Linked DNA regions of Homo sapiens: region 2 is linked to region 1. The links are contacts of gene promoters, found by promoter capture Hi-C in human tissues and cell types (Jung and others, 2019). All regions are on one chromosome and are shown on one strand. Each heading gives the region's core, a stretch centred on a gene start or on the middle of the fragment in contact. The rest is flanking DNA. Distances are from core to core; before and after follow the strand shown. Region 1 holds the start of PKP3 (plakophilin 3). Region 2 holds the start of IFITM5 (interferon induced transmembrane protein 5).

Region 1 (4,261 bases), core at 287-2,786:
GTGGCCCTCCCACAACTCTGCCCAGAGCTGGATGCTCTGTGGGGGACACCCCCATGGCAGAGGCCCCAGGTTCACCCTGGTTAATGGGGCTTCTGGGCCGGGGCTATTAACCCTCTGACGCTCGTGAGGCCCAGCCCGGAGTGGGGGCACGCCCCAGCCTGGGGACCTCACCCCCACCCCCCAATTATAATCCACCTCCCTCTAATTGGCAGGGCAGCCAGGGTGGTAATTAACCCTTCCCTCACCGTCCTCCACCCCATGACCCCTGGGCACCCGACTTGGTCACCAGCAAGGCTGAGGCCCCTGGAGGGAGGACCCCACAGTCCAGGCCGCCGGGCCGGCCCCTCCGCTGGGCGACCTTCACTTCCCCCTGGCCAGTGGCTGGAGGCCAGTCCTGGGGAAGGCCCCTCTAAACACCAAGTGGACCATGATGAACTGGCATCTGGGTCCCTGGCATTCTGGGAGGTCCATCTTACTGTCTAACCTTAATCCCTGTTGCTGTAGCCTGGGAAGGAGGAAATGGCGTTCCTAGAACCACTGCCTTCAACTCACAGCGTCTGTGCTCCTGTCACTCACACTCACACGCATGCACACACACTCGCGTGAGTGGGGCCAGGATTCCGCCACAGGTGGGTCTGGCTGGCACCGAGGGGTGCTCCTCCACCTGCTGTTCCCACAGAGAAATCTAGGTCACTCCAGCCGGGCCCTCCCCTCTAATTCCTCAGGGAGCCCCTGGTCCAGACAGGCCTGGCTTTCCTCCAGGACTTCCAGCACCCCCACACCTCTCCCCGCTTTCCCGTTCTGCTCATTCCCGTGAGGTATGGGAGGAGCGTGGGTGTCTGGGTGTCCCTGAGACCCTATGTGAGTCTGTGCTACCGGGGCCAGGCGCGTGCGTGTTCCGGGTTTGCCGACCGAGTGGCCTGGCCCGCCTGCCATGTGCCAACCTTCCCTGTCATCCCCCACAGGGATGGCTCCAGGACTCCAGGCACAGGTGGGGCCTGGCCAGGCTCAGTCTTTGGAGGACCCCGGGGTCCCTGCTTGGACAGGGCAGCCCCACCCATGGCTTCTCCCCACGCCCCTGGGGCGGGGTGTGTGACTCAGTGTGAGGCCTGGTGAGTCAGGAGCCGGCCTCACTGCGGCCTCTGCCCTCACACTATCACGTCCGCCCGCAGCCACCTCTCCCCGCCACCGCCATCCCCGCCGCTGTCCCCACCGCCTACCTCTGGCAGTCTCGGCCTCAGGCTCGGGCTCAGCGGCCCCGTTGTGCCGCGGCTGCTGTCCCAGCTGCAAGAGGCGGGCGCGGACCTGCTCCTGGACGCGGGCTGCCCGCAGCCGCTCGGCCTCCGGCCCCTCGGCGCCCCGGCGGTCCAGCTGCAGGTCAGAGGGCAGCGCCAGGGAGCACACGCCGGCCTCAGGCTGCAGGGCCGACAGCAGGAAGTTACCGTCCTGCATGGCGGCAGGTCCACCGGGCCTGGGCCTGGCGGCCGCCTCCAAACCCAACTATCTTCACGTCCTGTCCCTCGAGGCCCTCTCCCTGAAGTCCCCGCCCAGCCAGCCTCACCCAGAGCCGCCTGAAGACAGACGCCTGCCCAGCCCTGAGCGCAGCTGGGGGCGGGGACACCTGGCCAGGTGGGAGGGAGGGGCCGCCGCCTGCTTAAGGTGGAATTTGGGCGGAAGAACAGGCCCTGCATGGCCCCAGGTCCCAGCCTGGCCTCCCGCCTCCTTTTCTCCCATCCCACAACAGGGCCACGGGGACCTGGGTCCTTCTTGTTCTCAGCCTGTAAAGGCCAGACCGGGCCCTTTGTCGTGGGGCTGGGACAGAGGGGCCCTCTGTGTCCTGAGTGTCAGGGAAGGGCAGGGGGCCTGCGGGGGGCCTATGTCCTGCCACCCCCAGCATGAAGGGGAGGGTGCCCCAGTCCCTGGGGGTCTAGGGCCCTAGGTAGCTCCAAGAATCAGCCAGCCTCCATGGTAGCCCAGCCTTCCTGGTGAGGTGGGGATGAGGCCTAGGAAGGGTTGGCAGGAGACACTGTCGGGAGTCAGGGGTCAGTGCCAGGGATCAGGACAAAGGCTGGAGGGACAGAGCTTTAGGGTCCAACGGGACTCCATGGAGGCCCTGGCCCTGGTCCTTGGAATCCAGCGAGCCCCCTCCGCACCAGGAAGCATGTGGATGGACCGGCCCTCCCCCGAAGCCTGCAGACCCTGGAACTCACCCCCAGGACCCCCTCACCCCCTACAGAGGCCTCCAAAACCCTCTCTGGCTTCTGGGACCCTGGCACCACTGCTCCTGCACCCCAGGCCCTGGGGTGGGAGGCCGTTCCCAGCACATGAGTCAGGGTGCAGGGGGGCGGGGCCGCCCCAGGGGGTTGACTCAGAGGGCCTGCACTCCTGTCAGCGCATGTCAGGCTGGGGCAGGAGCGGGTGTGCAGGGAAGAACCAGGGGTCTGGAAGAGCAGAGGCCTGGATGGAGAGGGAGCGAGGGTGGGGGGCCCCTGGTGGGGGTGGGGTAGTGGGGGGCCCCTGGTGGGGGGGCCCTGGACCAAGCAGGGCTTGTGCCCAGAAGGTCTCCTTCTAGCACCACAGCCAGCAAATGGGCTCTGAGGCCCTCTAGCCTCTGGGACAAGCCCCTGGTAGATGGGGGTGGGGATAAGCCTAGGAGGGCTGGGGGTGGGAGCTGAACATCTATGACAACCTCTGGGCTTCTCTCACGAGCTCATCGGACAGCCTCTGCTTCTCCCTGGACCCTGGACCCTGGCTCTGGGCTCTCCTCCAGGGCAGACCCTTGCCCCCTAGCTCCGTCCCTGGAAGATTTTTGCCTTAATGGGGCTGGGGCAGGGGTCTGGCGTGAGGGCCGGGTCAGGGTTAGGAGGCAGCATTAAGGGTGAGGTCAGTTCTGAGGGGAGGAAGCTGGAGAGTAGGAGTCGGAGGTCAGCGTGGGGGGTTAAAGGGGGAGGGGAAGGTCCACTGAAAGGATGGGTGAGGCCCGGGCTGGGGCCACCAGGTGGGGTCGGGGTGGTGGGGAAGGGGTGGGAGACCTACCCGGCTCGTGGTCCGGATCCCGCCAGCCTCCCAGCTCATCCCAGAGGCCACTGCTGACGGCCGAGGTGTCCAGGACTCCATCCCTGGCCCGGCGCGTGCGGGGCAGCCTCTGCGGCGGGGACAGGACTGTGGGGGCCTCGGAGGGCGGGGTGGGAACGCCCAGCTCATCGGACTGGCTGATTCCCTGGGAGACAGGTTTCGTGTGGAAAAATCCTGGGAGACAAGTTTGTGCGGCGCAGAGCGGGCCTGGAGGTATGTGCCTGGCATGGGCTGGGTCCCGCCCTGCACCCAGGTCCACCCCAGGCCCACCTGGGGCCCTGCAGGGGCCAGGCTGGGCGGCATGAGGGGGAAGCCAGCCTGGAGGGCCTCTGCAGCCCAGTCAGGCCGAAGGGCTCACAAGAGGACTCAGTGAAGGGGCTTCCGTGCGGCTGGAGCTATGATGGGAACGCCGGTACCCCGCGGCCTGCAGGGCCCCCAGGGCCGACTCTGCCCACCTTCCCTCCTCCCCTTGGCAGAGAGGGCTGTGGGTGCCCCCCCCCAGAGCTGCGGCGCCTCCCTGAGGATGCGTGGTGCCCGCCAGGCACAGTTTTGGCAAAGCCAGGAATCTGGGGTGCACCTTCCCTCACTGCGGCCGGGCCAGACGGATGGCGATGCCTGCTAGGCCACCGCTGCAGCTTCCAGCTCCAGGCTCGGCGGAGTCTCATCTGATCCCTGTGACCAGCCCTGAGGGTCGCACTCTCCCTGGAGCCAGCTCCTGACACAGGAGCCCTGGAGGGGGGCTTGACGGTAGGCTTCCTGGAGGAAGCGGTTGTCTGTGGGGCCCGGAATCTGCACGGAGCCTCGGGCCGCTTGGGTGCACAATCAGGTTGAGAGCCTGGAACCTGAGGGCCTCGAAGGGTGAGTGAGCGCTGCTCTTAGATGGGTCCTGGGTGGGGTGTGGCCTGTCAGTCACCTCCCAAGAGGCGGTGGGAGAGGGCGCAGGAGGGCTTCGGGGCATGGTGGGCTCAGCGTGGGGGGCACGGGAGGCGCTCACAGAGAAGGTCGGCTGGGCCCAGGTCGTGGGCAGAGCTGCCAGGTGCGTGCCCGGAGTTGTGGGAGGGCACAGAAGACAAACCTCCAGGGCAGAGCCTGCGTGGGTGGAGGGGGTTGGGGTGGTCGTCTTAAGGAGCAGAAGGGGGAGGATCTGGGGAGAAAGGTGTGAGGACGTTGGAAGCAAAATATAGTC
Region 2 (4,585 bases), core at 857-3,356, 95 kb after region 1:
CCAATGTATTTCTTAAATGTATTTGATTGATACCTCATGTCTCCCTAAAATGTATAAAACCAAGCTGTGCCCTGAGCCCCTTGGGTATATGTTCTCAGGACCTCCTGAGGGCCGCACCACAGGCCATGGTCACTCATATTTGGCTCAGAATAAATCTCTTCAAATATTTCGCAGAGTTGGACTCTTTTCGTTGACACTTGTATTGATCTATGTCTTTGCCTGCAACTTCTGTCTCCCTACAATGTATAAAACCAAGCTGTAGCCCAGCCACCTTTGGCACGTTTGCTGGAACTCTGGAGGCTGTATCATGAGCCGTGGTCAGTCATATTCGGCGTAGGACAAACCTCTTTAAATACTTTACAGAGTTAGCTTTTTTCATCCTGACCAACATGGTGAAACCCCGTCTCGACTGCAAATACAAAAACTAGCCGGGCGTGGTGGCGGGAGCCCGTAGTGCCAGCGGCTCGGGAGGCTGAGGCAGGAGAATCGCTTGAACCCGGGAGGCGGAGGTTGCCGTGAGCCAAAATCACGCCACTGCACTCCAGCCTGGGCGACAGAGTGAGACTCTGTCTCACAAAAAAAAAAAAAAAAACAAAAACAAAAGAAAAAAAGTCACCCCTCTGCTCACTGAGGTGAATGCATATATCTGGTTGCCTCCTTTGGAGAAGCAAGTCAGAAACTCAAAAGAATGCAACCTTTGTCTCTTATCTACCTGCGACCGGGAAGCGCCTCCCCACTTCGAGTCTTCCCTGCCTTGCTTTGCATTGTCCTGCCTTTCCAGACTGAACCAATGTTCATCTTACATATGTTGACTGATGTCTCCTGTGTCCCTAGAATGTATAAAACCAAACTGTGCTCCGACCACCTTGGGTACAGATCCTCAGGAGCTCCAGAGGCTGTCACAGGCACATCCTCAATCTTGGCAAAATAATCTAAATTAACCGAGACCTGTCTCAGATATTTGGGGTTCACAGGCTCAAGCACAGCAGCAAGGAACCCCCCACCCAACCATCCCCTGCAGGTGGCGAGTGTGCGTCCTGGAGGAGGGAGGGCAGCTTGGTCCTGGGCACTCAGGAGTGTGGCCGACTGGGAGACGGGGAAGCTGAGCCTTCTGGCCCGGTGCAGTTGCCACCACTGCTCCGGGGAAGGCTTGGCAGAGGAGGTTGGGAGGGAGGATCCAGGGTCTATTGTTGGCACGTGGGTGGAGGTCCACAGAGCAGGAGTTGCGTGTGTGTGTCCAGAGCTGGGGACCAAGCCAATGTCTTTGGGGGGAAGTCTGGGCTGAAGACATAAATGTGAGTCGTCAGCACACACAGGCATCTACAGCCAGAGACAAGACTGGGGCGGACCTTGAGCCCTAAACAGGACCACTCACCACAGACATTCTGGGATCAGGGAGGGCAGCCGAGGAGGCTGAGGGGAGTGTCCACCACAGGAGCCCACAGGCTCCCTGCATCCCGACACCAGTGTTAACAGCTGTTGCTGGTCCCTGGGGGTTCCCCTGCCGGCTCCTAACAGGCTGCACCCCCTGGCTTTCCCCCCATGTGGTTCTCTCCTTCTCTCTCGCGCCCTCCTCCGACAGCCGCCCTCCCTGTCCCCCTTGCAGGGATGCCTGCGCTCCTAGGGCCTGGCGCTGGTGCTCTGAGAGTGTTAGGGGCAGAGTTGAGTTCTGGGAATGAAGGGGCTGCAGTTTCAGCAGCTCTGGTTCTGAGGAGGGGGCTCCTGTACATCCCTGAATTATGAGGCCCATGGCCCTGAGGCGACACCTCCAACTCTTCTTGGCCTGGACGGAGGGGGCTCTGGCCAGTGGTCTGCCCACTGCCCACTTGGCCAGCAGCCTTTGATGGGGGTGGGGGGATGGGTGGGGGTCTCTGCCACTGCCCGGCCGTAGCCTTCCAAGCGGGGGGCTCCCAGATGGGATGTCTGTCAGGAGGGACCCTGCTGGGTGGTCCAAGGCAGCCTCGGACAGGGGCTCCCTGGGGTGGGGGCTAAGGGGCGGGCCGCACCCTCGGCCCGCAGGCTGTAATTTGTGTTATATATAGCGTTGAGGGGCTGGGCCGGGAGGGCGACAGGGCTATAAGTGAGCGGGTGCCCACCCTCCCAGCACCAGTCTGAGTGTGGAAGAGACGGCGCTGGAACCCATGGACACGGCGTATCCCCGCGAGGACACCCGGGCCCCCACGCCCAGCAAGGCCGGTGCCCACACAGCCCTCACACTGGGGGCCCCGCACCCCCCGCCTCGAGACCACTTGATCTGGTCGGTGTTCAGCACCCTCTACCTGAATCTGTGTTGCCTCGGCTTCCTGGCGCTGGCCTACTCCATCAAGGTGGGCAGGGGCCCTACCGAGGTTGCGGGGGAGGCTCCACTACTCCATCAAGGTGGGGGGAAGGGGGAGGGATGGGGAGCTCCGTGGGGGGTCCTTGCCGTGCTGGGGGCCGCGGGGGGCTCTGCTTGTCCGTGAGGGGCTCTGTGGGCACAGCTATCAGTATGGCCGGGAAAGAGCTCCTCACGAAGGCAAGGCCGGGGGGCCTCTTCTTAACGGGGTCTGGCCCATCCAAGAGCACAGAGGCCATTGGGAGGCACCCACAGAGGTCTCTGCAATCAAGAGGGGGTTCACATGCTGTGGGCTTCTGGAACAGAGGTCCCTTTGACTTCAGCTCCTGGCTGGCAGGGTGGGGGGTGTCTCAGCACCCTGGGGGACCCTCACCCATAGAGAGCTCTGATAGGCTGACACTGGCCTGGGATGGCCCCCGGGTCCATAGCTGGGGCCCCAAGGAGTATCTCCTCAGGCCACACCCCTCCATCCAGATTTTGGGTGCAGTAGGGGCCTTCCAGGTGCCCAGGGTGTGGGTGGGGAAGGGCCCCCAGGCCCCGAGGACACATAGAGATCTGGCCCTGTGGTCTGGTCTCTCTGCAGGCCCGAGATCAGAAGGTGGTTGGTGACCTGGAAGCGGCCCGGCGTTTTGGCTCCAAAGCCAAGTGCTACAACATCCTGGCCGCGATGTGGACGCTGGTGCCGCCACTGCTGCTCCTGGGGCTGGTGGTGACTGGTGCCCTGCACCTGGCCCGGCTGGCCAAGGACTCTGCCGCCTTCTTCAGCACCAAGTTTGATGACGCGGACTATGACTGACAGGCTGGGTCCTGATCTGGGGCACTAGCCCCAGGACACTGACCCCAGGCTGCTGCCCCTGGGGCCCAATACTGACTCCCCGGAGCCTGGCCCTCCTTCTGTGGGGCCTCCATCCCTGCCCCATCCTGATCCTGGGGCCCTCCAGCCCCAACATGGGCACCTAAGGCTGAACCAGTCAGACCCCGGGGTCTTCACCCTAACCCGAGAGTTCCCGGGCCCTAACTCTGCCCCCGATCCTGCCCCTCCCTCCTCACACTCCAGGCCCCTCGGTTCCACGATTAAAAGTGCCTGGTTCCAGAAAGTGCCTCCTGGCCTCTTTCCTGCCTAGCGTGGGGGAAGGAGCTGCCCTAGGGACCACCAAAGCCAAATGCCACAGGGCCAGCCCCCAGAGTCAGTGGCGGGAGCGCCCCCCGCAGCTCAGCAGCCCTGCTTGGCCCCAACTGTCCCCTTCTCTCAGCCACTGGGCGGCCTGTGGCTTACGGGGCGGAGGCCCAGAGTATTTTAGACTAAGTTTGAGAGCCCAGGCCTTTGATCTCTGCTGCTCTGTGGTTTAGCGGCCTGTGCTCCAGAACATCATGGGTGCGTCCCAACCCCACGTGTGTCCACCCCATCTCTCTGTGCGCATGTGTGTGCGTGCTCGAAGTCTGCGTGAGAGTCCGTGCCTGTGGGTGGGCTCCATCTGCGGTCTGGTGTACACCTCCTTCCTTTCTGGGTCATTCTGTCTGTCCCCATGACCCTGCGTGCCCCCTTAATTCTGAGAAATCCCAGTCCCCACGGTGGTTTCCCTCCCTCCTGGGCCAGTGAGGGTGGCTAGAAAGGCAGGGCGGGGACGATCCCATGGGTGGGGCTGGACACACACACAAACACATGTGGGAAGGATAGCAGCTTCCCTTTCTCTCTCACACACACACACACACACACACCCCAACCAAACTATATCCAGAAAGGCAGAAAATGGGCATGTGTGCAACATTCTCTGAGTCCCCTGGTGCTGGGTGCATGTTCTCATATTATTTTACCTGCGTTGTGTACCACAGCCTCCCCACACACCCACCACAGCCTGGTGATGGGAGAGGGCCAGGGACATGCACACTGCGAGGCTGCGGGGAGGCCCTGGGGCCTCGCTGAGGCCAGCCATTGCCGGGAGGTGGTGGTTAACAGCACAGTGGCCCAGGGTTCTGAGCACCCCACTCCGGGGCCCTTCCCTTCCCGGGGAATCGCCGTTGCCTGCCTGCTCTTCCTGGGCTGTGGGCAGGAATCTTTTGGTCTACTCGGAGCCCTGGGCAGCATCCCCTATCTGTGATATGCCTGCAGCCAACGGCTGGCGTGGCAGGGACTCTGAGGGCAGGCCCAGCCAGCCCTGGAGGCAGAGGTGTGTGGAGGCCATGCTGGGCGCTGGAGACAGACAGGACCAGTCCCACAGTGGACCAAGGACAAGGGCAGTGTGCCCACCT

The links. The method cuts DNA at HindIII sites, captures the fragments that hold promoters and counts their contacts. A contact is called where the count stands out against the background at its distance.
Region 2: a contact is called between the fragment with the promoter of IFITM5 here and the fragment with the promoter of PKP3 in region 1, in 4 of the 25 tissues and cell types used here (H1 embryonic stem cells, IMR-90 fibroblasts, adrenal gland and 1 more).

What each region holds. Positions count from the first base shown.
Region 1 is chr11:391,484-395,744 of GRCh38, reverse strand. PKP3 (plakophilin 3) reads right to left here and starts at 1,536. Exons shown (of 13, transcript NM_007183.4): 1 at 1,221-1,536. The coding sequence starts at 1,452. RefSeq lists an enhancer at 1,321-2,083. The HindIII fragment of the contact is 50,700 bases long and covers 1-4,261 here.
Region 2 is chr11:297,047-301,631 of GRCh38, reverse strand. It overlaps IFITM5 (interferon induced transmembrane protein 5), which reads left to right and starts at 2,106. Exons shown (of 2, transcript NM_001025295.3): 1 at 2,106-2,327; 2 at 2,919-3,432. The coding sequence starts at 2,142. The coding sequence ends at 3,131. RefSeq lists an enhancer at 2,776-2,935. The HindIII fragment of the contact is 20,921 bases long and covers 1-4,585 here.